Regions from separate parts of the Homo sapiens genome. Here region 2 is linked to region 1. The links are contacts of gene promoters, found by promoter capture Hi-C in blood cells and fetal thymus (Javierre and others, 2016). All regions are on one chromosome and are shown on one strand. The core of a region is centred on a gene start or on the middle of the fragment in contact, and the rest is flanking DNA. Distances in the headings are between cores, read along the strand shown.

What was found. Contacts are between HindIII fragments. The CHiCAGO score rates a contact against its expected background, and 5 or more counts as called.
Region 2: a contact is called between the fragment with the promoter of LANCL1 here and the fragment with the promoter of BARD1 in region 1, in 7 of 17 cell types (non-activated CD4 T cells, total B cells, naive B cells and 4 more). The highest score is 16.6, in non-activated CD4 T cells.

What each region holds. Positions count from the first base shown.
Region 1 is chr2:214,805,104-214,811,363 of GRCh38, reverse strand. It overlaps BARD1 (BRCA1 associated RING domain 1), which reads left to right and starts at 1,681. Exons shown (of 11, transcript NM_000465.4): 1 at 1,681-1,952. The coding sequence starts at 1,795. It overlaps SNHG31 (small nucleolar RNA host gene 31), which reads right to left and starts at 1,135. Exons shown (of 4, transcript NR_110292.1): 1 at 932-1,135. RefSeq lists a silencer at 1,203-1,772 and enhancers at 2,323-2,402, 2,693-2,742. The HindIII fragment of the contact is 4,673 bases long and covers 954-5,626 here.
Region 2 is chr2:210,473,831-210,480,090 of GRCh38, reverse strand. It overlaps LANCL1 (LanC like glutathione S-transferase 1), which reads left to right and starts at 3,332. Exons shown (of 10, transcript NM_006055.3): 1 at 3,332-3,471; 2 at 3,679-3,775. The coding sequence starts at 3,695. It also overlaps a transcript of CPS1 not described here. The HindIII fragment of the contact is 5,337 bases long and covers 1-4,617 here.

The DNA.
Region 1 (6,260 bases), core at 432-2,931:
AGCCAAGCACTGCATGTGCCACATGAAGCGATATTGGGAAATGAGTCACATGCAGCCAATCTCTGGCCTTTTGGAGGTTTTGAACTAGAAGGGGACACGCACATAATCGTATGTGTGTGTATCTACATACACAGGTGATATGATGCACCTGAGAGAATCCAGTCTAGGAACTAGGAAAACCTTTAAGGAGTGATACTTCAGCTGTATTCTGAAGGATGAGGAATGGAGAGGAGGCCAATTCCAGGTTCCAAAGTGAATCTTTGCGCAAAAGCCATGAGGCAGCAAGGTGCAGGGGCTTTTAATGACCTAAGGGAACGCACTGTGGGGTTGGGACCATGATGGCCAGAGGAGGTTTTGACAAGAGGCTAGTCAAAGAGCAGAGAAAAACTTTAAGGAGTTTTAAGAAAGGGAAGTGCCACGATGAGTTTTGTGTTTGGAAATGTTTTAGGCGGCCACACCGCAGTCTCGGGACTGGCTGGGACCTGGATAGACACTTGGATATCAGCTAGAAAGCTACGACAGGAAACCAGGCGAGGACGAGGCAACTGGGGATGTTGTGGAGCAGAGACGGAGAGAAAATGGGTGCATTCGAGACAAGTTAGGGGGAAAAAATGCAAGGACTTGGAAATGAACTTGGGGCGCGGCAGGAAGGCATGACGGGTTGCTCTGTAGGTCTTATCTGTAAATTACGGCGATCAGTGAAAGATCTGGAGGAGGAAGGTGGACACACTCTCTAACAAAAAAAACCCTTTTTGAAATTTTATACCAATATTTTAAAAGTAAACCAGATCTTTTCAGACATGCCTTTGAGCTGATATTTGTTAACTAGTTAGAATTAGAAACTTTCCTTATTTTTACTCAGTTACAATATACGCCACAGCTGAGGTGAGAGGAAAGAAAAGGTTGCTTTCTTAGGAACAAAGAGTGGTACCTTCAGTATCGTGGGCAAAGCTTTTCCAAGTCCAACAGCAGTCAAAACAGCGCTTTTTATAAATAACACTCAGCTAAAAGTTTCTGGGTTTGTGATTGTTCCAACGGTTAAGCTCGGATGAGGGTCCCTGGAGTCGTAGCTCCCGGGAAACGTCGACTGGCTTTCCACCTGGACTTCATCCGTCCAGGCAGCCCAGAGGGGCTTCAGGCCCCGCCCGCTCTCCTGCCAACTACAGCCTCGCGACTGCGCTCAGCCTTCAGGCCCCGCCCCTTCGGTCAAGCGGCGTGCTCTCACTGCACGGCGCCTGGGCCCCGCGCGCCGGGACCTCGGTTTCAGCCGTCCTGTCCTGCCCCGAGGCCCCTAGGCCCCGCCCCTGGGCCCCGCGCGCCAGGACTTCGGTTTCGACCGTCCTGTCCCGCCCCGAGGCTCCTAGGCCCCGCCCCCTCTGTCCCCGGCGTGTTCTCGCGGCTCCGCCCCTAGGACCCGCGCGCCGGGACTTTGGCAAGTTTCAGCCGTCCGGCCCCGCCCCCTCGGTCCCACGGCTCTCGCGGCCCCTCCCCTAAGTCCCACACGCCGGGACTTTGGCAAGTTTCAGCCTCCAGCCCCACCCCTAGGTCCCGCCCACTCGGCCAGCGGCTGGCTCTCGCGGCCCCGCCCCTGTGCCCTGCGAGTCCCTATTTTGGGAGCATTGCGGCCGCCGTGCCCCGCCCCTCCCCGCGCGCCCCGCCCCTCTGGCGGCCCGCCGTCCCAGACGCGGGAAGAGCTTGGCCGGTTTCGAGTCGCTGGCCTGCAGCTTCCCTGTGGTTTCCCGAGGCTTCCTTGCTTCCCGCTCTGCGAGGAGCCTTTCATCCGAAGGCGGGACGATGCCGGATAATCGGCAGCCGAGGAACCGGCAGCCGAGGATCCGCTCCGGGAACGAGCCTCGTTCCGCGCCCGCCATGGAACCGGATGGTCGCGGTGCCTGGGCCCACAGTCGCGCCGCGCTCGACCGCCTGGAGAAGCTGCTGCGCTGCTCGCGTTGGTAAAGACGGAGCTTCTTGGGGGTGGCTGCGAGGGCACGGGTCGCACAGTTTCTGGGGGCGGCAGAATCTTTTCAAATCTTCCGTTTCCTCCTTCCGTTCCCGCGCTGCAGTCGGGTCGGCGTGCGGTTAGCACCTGCCGGGGGATATAGTATTAACAACTTCTGCTTCTCATTCACTTTATTTTTGGGCGACTTACCGGCCTCCCCTTGCCCTGAATCCAACTGAAACGGTAGTTTTTGAACTTCAGCGGGCTGAAGAACCGTCTGGAGGTGTGGCTAAAAAAATGTTCATCCCGGTCGCGCCTCCAGAGTTTGAATCGGGCTGGGGTGGGGCTGAGGCTTCTGCATTTTTTACCCGGCCCTGGATTACCCCGCTGCTTTCCGGGAGCTGTGGCGAATTGGGCTGGCGGGCCGCCCCGGAGACCCTCTAAATTAGAAGCAGCTGCCACTCTAAGTTAAACTGGCCTTTTTGACATTTTCTCCGTGCCAGCTTTTTCGAGTGAGATGGGATGGAGCATCGGATATCTACCATAGTTGTAGATTGAAGATGGCACGGAATTTCTCATTTTCTTAGTTTGCTCAAAAGACTGTATGTCTGGTGTCCCCGCTCTTAGTGATGCTGTTTATTGTTTTCCTTCATGCTGTCACATTATGGGAGTCCTCTCAGGGTTTTCATTCCGTCCAAAGACATTTTCATGAGTGTTACTTCTTGCTTTTTTTCGTGTAGCTCTTTCTAGTATACAAACCAAGAAGGTTTGTAAAACCCAAGAAAGGTTTGTCTCATTTTCATTTCTTCTGAAAAGCATTTTTATTGAGCACTTGCTGTGTGTACAGCTAAGTATTTCTGTATGAAGATCACTGGCAGTTTTTTTGTTATTTGTAGCTGTCAAAAGTTTATATCCTTTTTGGACTTTTTTCCCCTTTGATTTCTAACTTGCAGAACTTAAGTTACCTAGTTGCATAAAGTATAAGTAACACAACTTTTTCTTTTCTTTCCTTTTTTGAGACGGAGTCTCGCTCTGTCGCCCAGGCTGGAGTGCAGTGGCACGATCTTGTCTCACTGCAAGCTCCGCCTCCCGGGTTCACGCCATTCTCCTGCTTCAGCCTCCCAAGTAGCTGGGACTGCAGGCGCCCGCCATCATGCCCGGCTAATTTTTTGTATTTTTAGTACAGATGGGGTTTCACCGTGTTAGCCAGGATGGTCTCCGTCTCCTGACCTCGTGATCCGCCCGCCTCTGCCTCCCAAAGTGCTGGGATTACAGGCGTGAGCCACGGTGCCCGGCCAAACTTTTTCTTTAAAAATGAAAAGGACTTAACTGTCAGAGTTTTGCACTTATATTTTCTTTGACGAAAACTTTTAATATCTGTGACAAAATGACATTGCACTTCTTAGAAAAGTGACACTCAGATAAGTGAGTACATGAAGACATTTGAGTTGTGTGTTTGTTTTCCTGTAGCACATGGGTCATCTGAGAATAGGAAATTTAAAACTGGCACTGCTAGTTGCAATAACAGAAGCATTATAGTTCACACCTTGATAGTCCAACGAAAGTTAGACATTCCCTTGGCACATACCTATGTGGAAGCATCGGGCTTCACTTAGACTGTGGTCAGAATGCCTGAGTTCAGGTTCTAGCTTTGACACTATTGAGTAGGCCAAGTTATTCATCTCTCATTTTCCGGATATGAGTAATACTAATGATTAGCTTATTTTCTTGTGAGGATTCATTAATAATCATAAATTTATTGAGCACCCATAAAGTGCCAGACCCTATTCTGGGTATTGGGGATTTGTTAGTGAACAAAGCAGACAATAAATTCCATCTCTTAGGGAGCTTTTATGGAAGAAACAAAATGAAATTTTACATGTATGTAAAGTATTGAGTTTGGTGGTTGTGATAGAATAAATGATAAATAATGTGTGTCTTAATCTAAAAGAATGTGGTGTTTGCTTGCTACATGATTTGGGAGAGACAAAATAGATAATATATATGAATATATGTTGTCCTGAAAAATAACAAAGCCGGTTTCACTTTTTATCCCCTACCAAATATTTTTCCAGTTTCTAACTGAAGTGAGTAGACAGTAAGAGGCAACGGAGTGTAAACAGACATCAGTAACCAGGCCCAGACTTTTAGCATGGCTCACCCATTTGACTACAGAATGCTATTGAATGCTATTGATTTTTTTTTTTTTAATCCGAACCTCTATAGATGAACTGAATCTTAACTCTTAGACTGCATGTTTTCATGTAGGGGTCTGCAAATTTTTTCGGTAAAGGGCCAGGTAATTAATATTTTAGGCCTTTCTGCCCGCAAATAGTTTTTGTTCTTATTTATTTTTACATCTCTTAAAAATGTAAAAACCATTCTTTCCTTAAGGGCTGTACAGAAACAGACTGCTGGCTTGGTTTGGCCCACAGGCAATAGTTGCTAAACTGTCGATAAAGTCTTGATAAACTTAATGTCTCAAGTTTAAAAATCCTTTTTGGTATACAATTTTATATCACATGGGGTGCCTTTTTTTTTTTTTTTTCCCTAGGCAAAGTTTCACTCTGTCACCCAAGCTGGAGTGCAGTGGCATGATTTCAGCTCACTGCAACCTCCTTCCCCCGGGTTCAAGCAATTCTCTTGCCTCAGCCTCCTGAGTAGCTGGAACTACAGGTGCATGCCACCATGCCCGGCTAATTTTTGTATTTTTACTAGAGACGGGGTTTCATCATGTTGGCCAGGCTGGTCTCCAACTCCTGACCTCAAGTGATCCGCCCACTTCAGCCTCCCAAAGTGCTGGGATTACAGGCGTGAGCCACCATGCCTGGTCTTTACATGGGCTTTAATGTTTAGAAATGATTTTGCTTTCCTCTGTAGGTGTCTCTGCAACTTTGGCACTATCTATAGTGAAAAAAGCATGGCCAGCTGCACCTTACTCAAGGAGGAAAAGCATTGTTCCTACCTCTGCCTTTGCCCTGGTAGCCTCCTGACATTGCCGGCAAGGAGCAACTCAGAATGGTCTGCTTCTTCCATTTGCTACCCTCCATTCAAAGCAGTGTCATATTATTTGAAATTGTGTCAGTATGTCCTTTTACAGAGTTTCAGAGTTCTACCCAGTGGGCTAGTGATTACCCCGATTACCCTCACATTCAGCTTGCAGCTGACATCTGCCTTGTGTTGCACATGGATCTGTTTTGCAGCAAGCATTACTTGCTGGTGAGGGTGGATTGGTACATAACCGGGCATCCTTTCTTGACCTTTAACATGAATCTGGCTTCAAGGTGAAGCCGATGAAAGTGTTCAAGAGGCCAGATGTGACATTTATATTAGGACCAAGCCTCACAACCAGAAAGAAGCTATTTAAGGATTTGGAAAAATGAGACAGGAAGACCATATTATTTGAGAGGCTGGCAGAAAGCACAGTAATAATGTGTTCCTAAAGGAAGCAGGAAATGGTAATAGGAGCTGCAGTGTAGAAGCCCCAGGTGTCATATAACACTGTTTTGTGAATTAATAGGTACCTCTTGGCATATTTTTGAGGGTGAGAGTGGGATTAGACATCTATGACAATTGTAACGTGGGCCTTTTTAATCAACTTTTTATGAAAAGTTAGAAAGTAATCTTTTAACCTTTATGATAGGTATTTTTTTTTTTCTGAGTTCTTGTTTAGGAGATGATCAAGCTTAATTTTGTATTCTCTCATACTTTGAGGCAGCATAGTGTAGATGTTAAATGTGTGGAATCTGGAGTTAGATTCCCTGGGTTCAAATCCTGGCTCCATTATTTAGGTTATTTTATCTTTTTATGCTTCCTTTTCTTCATCTGCACAAAATGAGTGGATATTCATAAGATGCCTTGAGCTGTGTCTGTTATGTACTAAATACTATATGAATATTTGTGAAATAAAGGATAGGTTCTCTGACTCCGGGTTCAGCTTTTGCCTTTCTTCATGAGTTTTGAATGTTCAGAGGCATTCTCACAGAGCAGTGATCCCCAAATGGAATGATTTCTCCCTGGCACTGGTTATTCATTAGAATAACGAGAAATCACTGAGACACTGTGTAAGGGGTGATAAGGTGATGCATTTTCTACTTCTGCCTTTAAGGAGTGTATGCTTAATTATAAGGGATAAAATAAATACAAGTTCAGGGTAAATTGTCGTGCAGGTCGACATAGTGCTGAGAAGAGTACTTGGGTAGGGCCAGTGGAAGGAAGCTTCATGGGCTTTTAAATTGAAATATGAATAGATTTTCTTTTTTCTGAGACGGAGTCTCCCTCTGTCACCCAGGCTGGAGTGCGGTGGTGTGATCTCGGCTCA
Region 2 (6,260 bases), core at 2,083-4,582, 4.3 Mb after region 1:
AATCTGAACTAAGAAAAATACATTTCTATGTATTTTGGAGATTATGTTTTGAGGCCTCTTTGTAACTAACATAGTTTTCACCCTAATATACATTATAACATTTTGAAATTAAAGTCTGAGAATGGAACTAAAATGCCCTCAGAATATAGTTGTTTTCTCTGTTATCAATCATCCCAGATTTCCAGAAGTATTCAGTTTTAGAGGCAATAATACAATGATTATTTCCTGAAAGTTCACACAAGACAGCTACAGTGATTAAAAGAAGGAACATTACATTTTTTTAAAAAATCATCCTAAATTTATCAAAAGTAGAATGATCCATAAAAAATTATAACTGTCAAATTTGTGTTAGCCACAAATGTGTTCAGCCACCATAGCCACAGGTGAAAGCATAGGTACTATTTGGGGCTAAAATTGTTGCCCCCCAAATTCATACGTTGAAGTCCTAACTCTCACTATCTCAGCATGTGGCTGCTGGAGAAGGGTCTTTAAAGAAAAGTAAGGTTAGCCAAGTCAGGCATATCACTTGAGGTCAGGAGTTCAAGACCAGCCTGGCCAACATGGTGAAACCCCGTCTCTACTGAAAATACAAAAATTAGCTGGGCGTGGTGGTGTGTGCCTGTAATCCCAGCTACTCTGGAGGCTGAGGCAGGAGAATCGCTTGAACCAGGGAGTCAGAGGTTGCAGTGAGCCGAGATCGTGCCACTGCACTCCAGCCTGGCAACAGAGCGAGACTCCGTCTCAAAAAAAAAAAAAAAAAAGAAAGAATGATAAGGTTCAATGAAGTCATAATCCACTATGATGGTGTCGTAAGAAGAGGAAATTAGGACACAGACAACACAGACTGAGGGACAACCATGTGAAGATAGGAGAAGACGGCATCTACAAGCCAACAAGACAGGCCTCAGATGGAATCAGTCCTGCTAACATCTTAATCCCAGACTTCTATCCTTCACAACTGTGGAAAAATACATTTCTGTTGTTTCAGGCCACTTGCTATGGTTCTTTGTGTGGCAGCCTGAGTAGATAAATACAAACAATAAATGTTAAATACTTTTCTTTTGTATCAGAACCAAGGAGGGATTCTCTGGGTTGGTTCTCTGACAAAAAGGAAGGAAGAAAGAGAAGGAAAGCAGGGAGGGAGGGAGGGAAGGGAGGGGGGAAGGGGGGAGGGGGGAGGAGGGAGGGAGGGAGGGAAATATTATTTCCAGCAATTAAAATCTTTGGGTGTTTACAAGTCACATGCTTTGATTATATTTAAATTCTAAATAATTCTACTTCCCTTCCGTTTAGACGCATGCTTCACATCATCTTCAGAAGTAAACTCCAGATAAAGACTTAAATATAAGAGGTAAAAAGCTAATAAAATAAAATGTGGGAAGTCATTGCAGTCTATGAGTAGACAAAGACATTTTGAATATGAAGCTAAATCCTCAAATCACAGTGTCACAATTAGATGGGTTTAACTTCATCGAAATGAAAGATTGTGATTCAATAAAGGATATCCTAGAAAATGTGAACAAACTAAAGAAAGTATCTACAATAACTAAAGTGAAAGGAGATTAATATACAGAATATACCCCACAAACACGGGAAAAAAAGAAACAAAACTCTTTCAAATCAACAGGAAAACAATGCAATCACTAATAGAAAAATAAATAAAGGAACAGGTAAAGCCCAATTGTCTAACAGGTATATGAAGGAAAGTTCAACACCATTAGCCACAGAAAAACTAAAAGATTAAACATCAGTGAGATTCTACATTATTCATTAGAATGGCAAACATTAGAACACTAGATAATACCAAGTGTTGGAGAGGAGATGGAAATGACAGAAACAATTGATATGTTGGAGTGAATACTCTTGGAGTGAACAATAGATACTGTTAGAGGGAATATAAACTAGTCCAGCAGTTTTGGAAAGCAATCTAACAACATTGGGGAAATTAAGTACAGAATCTCATATGATCCAGCAATTGACTGCTGGGTGTATGTCTCAGGGATACTCACACAGATTCATAAAAGCACATGTTCCAAGAATATTATTTGTAGTATGGAAGTTAGAAACAATGTCCATCATTAGGGGAAAGGATTAGTAAAATAAGATAGAGGCATACTATGAAAATATACAATTACCATCCTGCCTTGCTTAACAACAGTAATATTTAATTGCTTAAAGACTGTGAGTGGGATAAATGGATAGCCTTTAATCATTAAAGAAAAAATAATTGATAAAATGTCTCTCGTTTTCCTTTTCTCTCTTGTGAGTTGCTCCTTCAAACACCCATCTTTTAAAACATGAGAGATATCCAGCTTAAGACTCACCATGGGCCTCGGCTAAATCTTCATGAATTTGATGAGGTTAAGAAAGCAACTACATTTCCTAAGAAAGCAACTATTTTAAAAGAGCAAACCTGGGTGTGGGGAGGGATTAGGAGTAGAGTTTGGGATGGCAGCCTCAGAAGGACAAACTTAGGCCAAGGAGGGAGGGAGTTGGGGTGGAGACTGAGCTTCTCCAGTTGGAGGTCTGGAGCTAGGACTCTTCATTGAAACCGGAGAGAAGGAAAAGGAGAGAGTGAGGCTGACTTTTTAACTGAACTCCAAAATTCTCTGAGCAATAGAATGGGCCTAATATGTACCAGGTGGGATTTAATTTTAAATGAAAGAAAAATGTTTCAGATAGCAGGGACTGTTAAAACATTGAAATTGAATGTTGTGGATCTCCTGCTGTGTTGGTTTTCAGTATTTTTTAGAGCTTTGTTATCCAGTATTATAGTCCAATTTAGGCTAAGGAACAGAATAAATTTCCTAAGAGCTGTAATTTGTGTTTTCATGTGCTTTCCCCAAAGTATTATCAACTGCTATTTGATATCCTGTCCTTTGGGCATATTTTTGTTGTTGTTGTTGTTAATGATGGTGGTGCTTTTTTGTTTGTTTGTTTTAAGAAATGAAAAGAAAAGATTGGCAAGTCCCTGGAGAGACATTATCCCCCCACCCCCCGCCAAATTTTATCTATTGCGAACAGCAGAAATACCAGCATGTTCAGATCTAAAAGCAGTCTGTTTCTTCTCCAGGTTAAAAAAATATATACTTCTTATGACTCTGGACTTAAATTTGACTTTTTAAAAATAAGAAAAATTAAAGAAGGGTAGGAAATATTGGTCACATCTCCGCGTGATTCTAGGTCCTCACTTCTGCTACCCAGTAATTAAAATACCCTGCGTTATCCTTTAGAAATTACACGCCTGTGTCTTTAACAAACTGTAAGAGAGAAGGGGGCGGGTCTCGGGAACGGCGAAGGCTCTGATTGGCCCTCCTGGCAGGAACTGGGCGGTAAAATAGCCCTTCTGTTACTGTCCGGGGCTGCGGGGTGAGAGGCCAGGGCCGAGAAGGGCTTCAGGACGCGGGAGGCGCACTTGCTTCAAGTCGCGGGCGTGGGAACGGGGTTGCAAAACGGGGCCTCTTTGTCCGGGTGGGTTAAGGGCCCTGGCAGCTTTTTCGCGAAGGCGCCATGTCCTAGCAGTTGGGCCGCAGTGGGCCCGAGGTCCACTCGGACCGCCGAGACGGCTCGATGGCCCTGGAGCTGGAGGAAGGGGGATACCTGGGCGCCGCCGCCGCCCTCGCAACTCGGCCGAGGCCCCTATCTCAACCTAGTTTCTGTTTTTCCCCTGTTCTGCAGGCTTGCTTCCGGCGTCATGGCTCAAAGGGCCTTCCCGAATCCTTATGCTGATTATAACAAATCCCTGGCCGAAGGCTACTTTGATGCTGCCGGGAGGGTGAGTTTAGGATATGTCTGCCTGCATCCCTGCCTCTCCCCACGGTGTTCGGAAAGGTGCTCATTTTTGCCTGAGAGAGTTGAGCATCCCCCTTTAAAAAAATACATGATTCGACGATAAATACGTAAATTATTTAAAAATACATGTTAATATATACAAATTGAGCTCTAACATAATGTTAAATGTGTCATTGTTAACATTATTAATTGAAATAAACTCAATTATTGATAGTATAAATTTTAAAAATTGGCAAATATGTAGTTTACTATGTAATTGGCATTTTTTAATGTATTTTGGTTTGCTTCTTAAAAAGAGGTGAAGAATCCTAACGGTATTCACATGTGCCGTGTTACTCCTTTGTGATTATACACAAGTGCGTTCAGGGTAATGATGAGAGCAAACGGTGGTGTATGGTAAGGACGTCTTTAAACTGTTAGTGCTTAGAGAATTTGGGGACCTAGGAAACCTGAAGTTCTTTGTACCGGTGTCACTCCACAGGGCATATCCACAGCTGGAAAACAAAAAAAAAGAAACTTGTAAATTAAACTGGTTAGCATGTCACAAATCACTGTGCAAAAGAGAACCTGGATGTAAAATACTAGGGGCCTGTGTTTTCTCATGCCTCATTGGGTGAACATAATTGTTAAGAGGGAATACAGATATTTTTAAGAATACCTACTTTTGGCTGGGTGCAGTGGCTCACACCATTAATCCCGACACTTTGGGAAATCAAGGCAGGAGGATTGCTTAAGGCCACGAGTTTGAGACCAGCCTGTGCAACACAGCAGGACCTTATCTCTACTAAAATTTTTTTAAAAATTAGCCAGGTGTGGTGGAAAGCTTGTAGTCCCAGCTACTTGGGAGGCTGAGGCGGGAGAATTGCTGGAGCCTAGGAGATTCGAGGCTGTAGTGAGCTATGATTGCACCACTGCACTCTAGCCTGGGTGACAGAGACCCTGTCTCTAAAAAATAAAAAAATAAAATTTAGTTTTGAAAATGAGTTAAGTTGGAAACAAGGCACACGCTTTAAAAATTTTACCAGTTTATTTCTTTGAAACTTGTCAGCCATACAAAAGACATTTTATGTGATATAAAGGCCTTACAGATTTCATCCCTGTCAAATTAATCTGTGGGTCTGATGGTTGTTTTTTTCCTTAAAACACTTGTCACATTATAGATTAACTTGGGTCAGTAATGCAGGTAGGAGGAATCAAAGAGATGAAGAAGAGGTGTAGGGTAGAAGGCTACCAAAATGTATATGGAGTTTGAGTCAATCTGATTATTTTAAGACTAGTATTAAGCTGCCCAAACAAAGCTTTTTATAATTATCTTCAGGTCAGATGGATTCCCTTTGGCCATTTGGGCCTGCATTCTGCTTAGCTGTGCAGATTCTCAAGCTGAAGTATGTGTCTTGTCTTGCGGGAGGAGGACTTGCTGCTTCATACTGACTTGGCAAAGAGAACAGTTGAGGATTGTCCTAGTGACAGAAACCTTCAATAAAATGTACCTATTTAGACTGCCTATAAAGTAAATGCTTTTTATGAATTTAACCCTTTATTTATTTATTTATTTATTTTTATTTTTATTTTTTTAGACGGAGTCTCACCCTGAGCCCAGGCTGGAGTGCAGAGGCACAGTCTTGGCTCACTGCAACTTCTGCCTCCCAGGCCCAAGTGACTCTCATGCCCCAGCCTCCTGAGTAGCTGGGATTACAGGTGCACACCACCGCACCTGGCTAATTTTTTTTTTTTTTTGTATTTTTAGTAGAGGCAGGGTTTCACCATGTTGGCCAGGCTGGTGTCGAACTCCTGACCTCAAGTGATCCACCCATCTCAGCCTCCCAAAGTGCCGGGATTACAGGTGTGAGCCACCATGTCGGGCCAAATTTAACCCTTTGTTTCTAAGGGGAAAAATTCACAAATTTAAACCCTGACCCAAGAGTAATAATGTAGTTTATTGCCTAACGTAGTTTTTGGACAGGTCCTAGAAAGGAAGTAGCATACCAGTTCTAAAATTGTGTAATGTTGAACACGGAGGATCAAACCCTGGAGATCTGTCCTCCTTAATTTCTTAACACAAGATTTCAGTAAGGAACTGGTCTGTTTTCTGGCATCTGTCAGAAAAAAATAGAAAAGAAAAAAGGACTTTTAGAGACTTCAGATTATAGCTAGAGTTTGAATGATTTGGTGGTGTACCACAAGCAATCAATATTCTCACAGAGGTCACCTTTATTAAATGCAGAATGTGCCAAACAGAAAGTAACTTCCCTTCATAAGGCTGAGAGATTCTCATTATTCTTGATCTCTTGAAGGCCAGGCAAGATGATAAATTATATATGATCTATATACAGTAGATGACGTGTTCTCAATATAGATGCACTCTTCTATCTAGCTGAGATTTATAGGCCTTTTGTATTAACATTGAAGTATATTTTATCCTACTAAATGTATTTTCAAGTCTAGTTGAAATCTTAACCTCTTTGCAG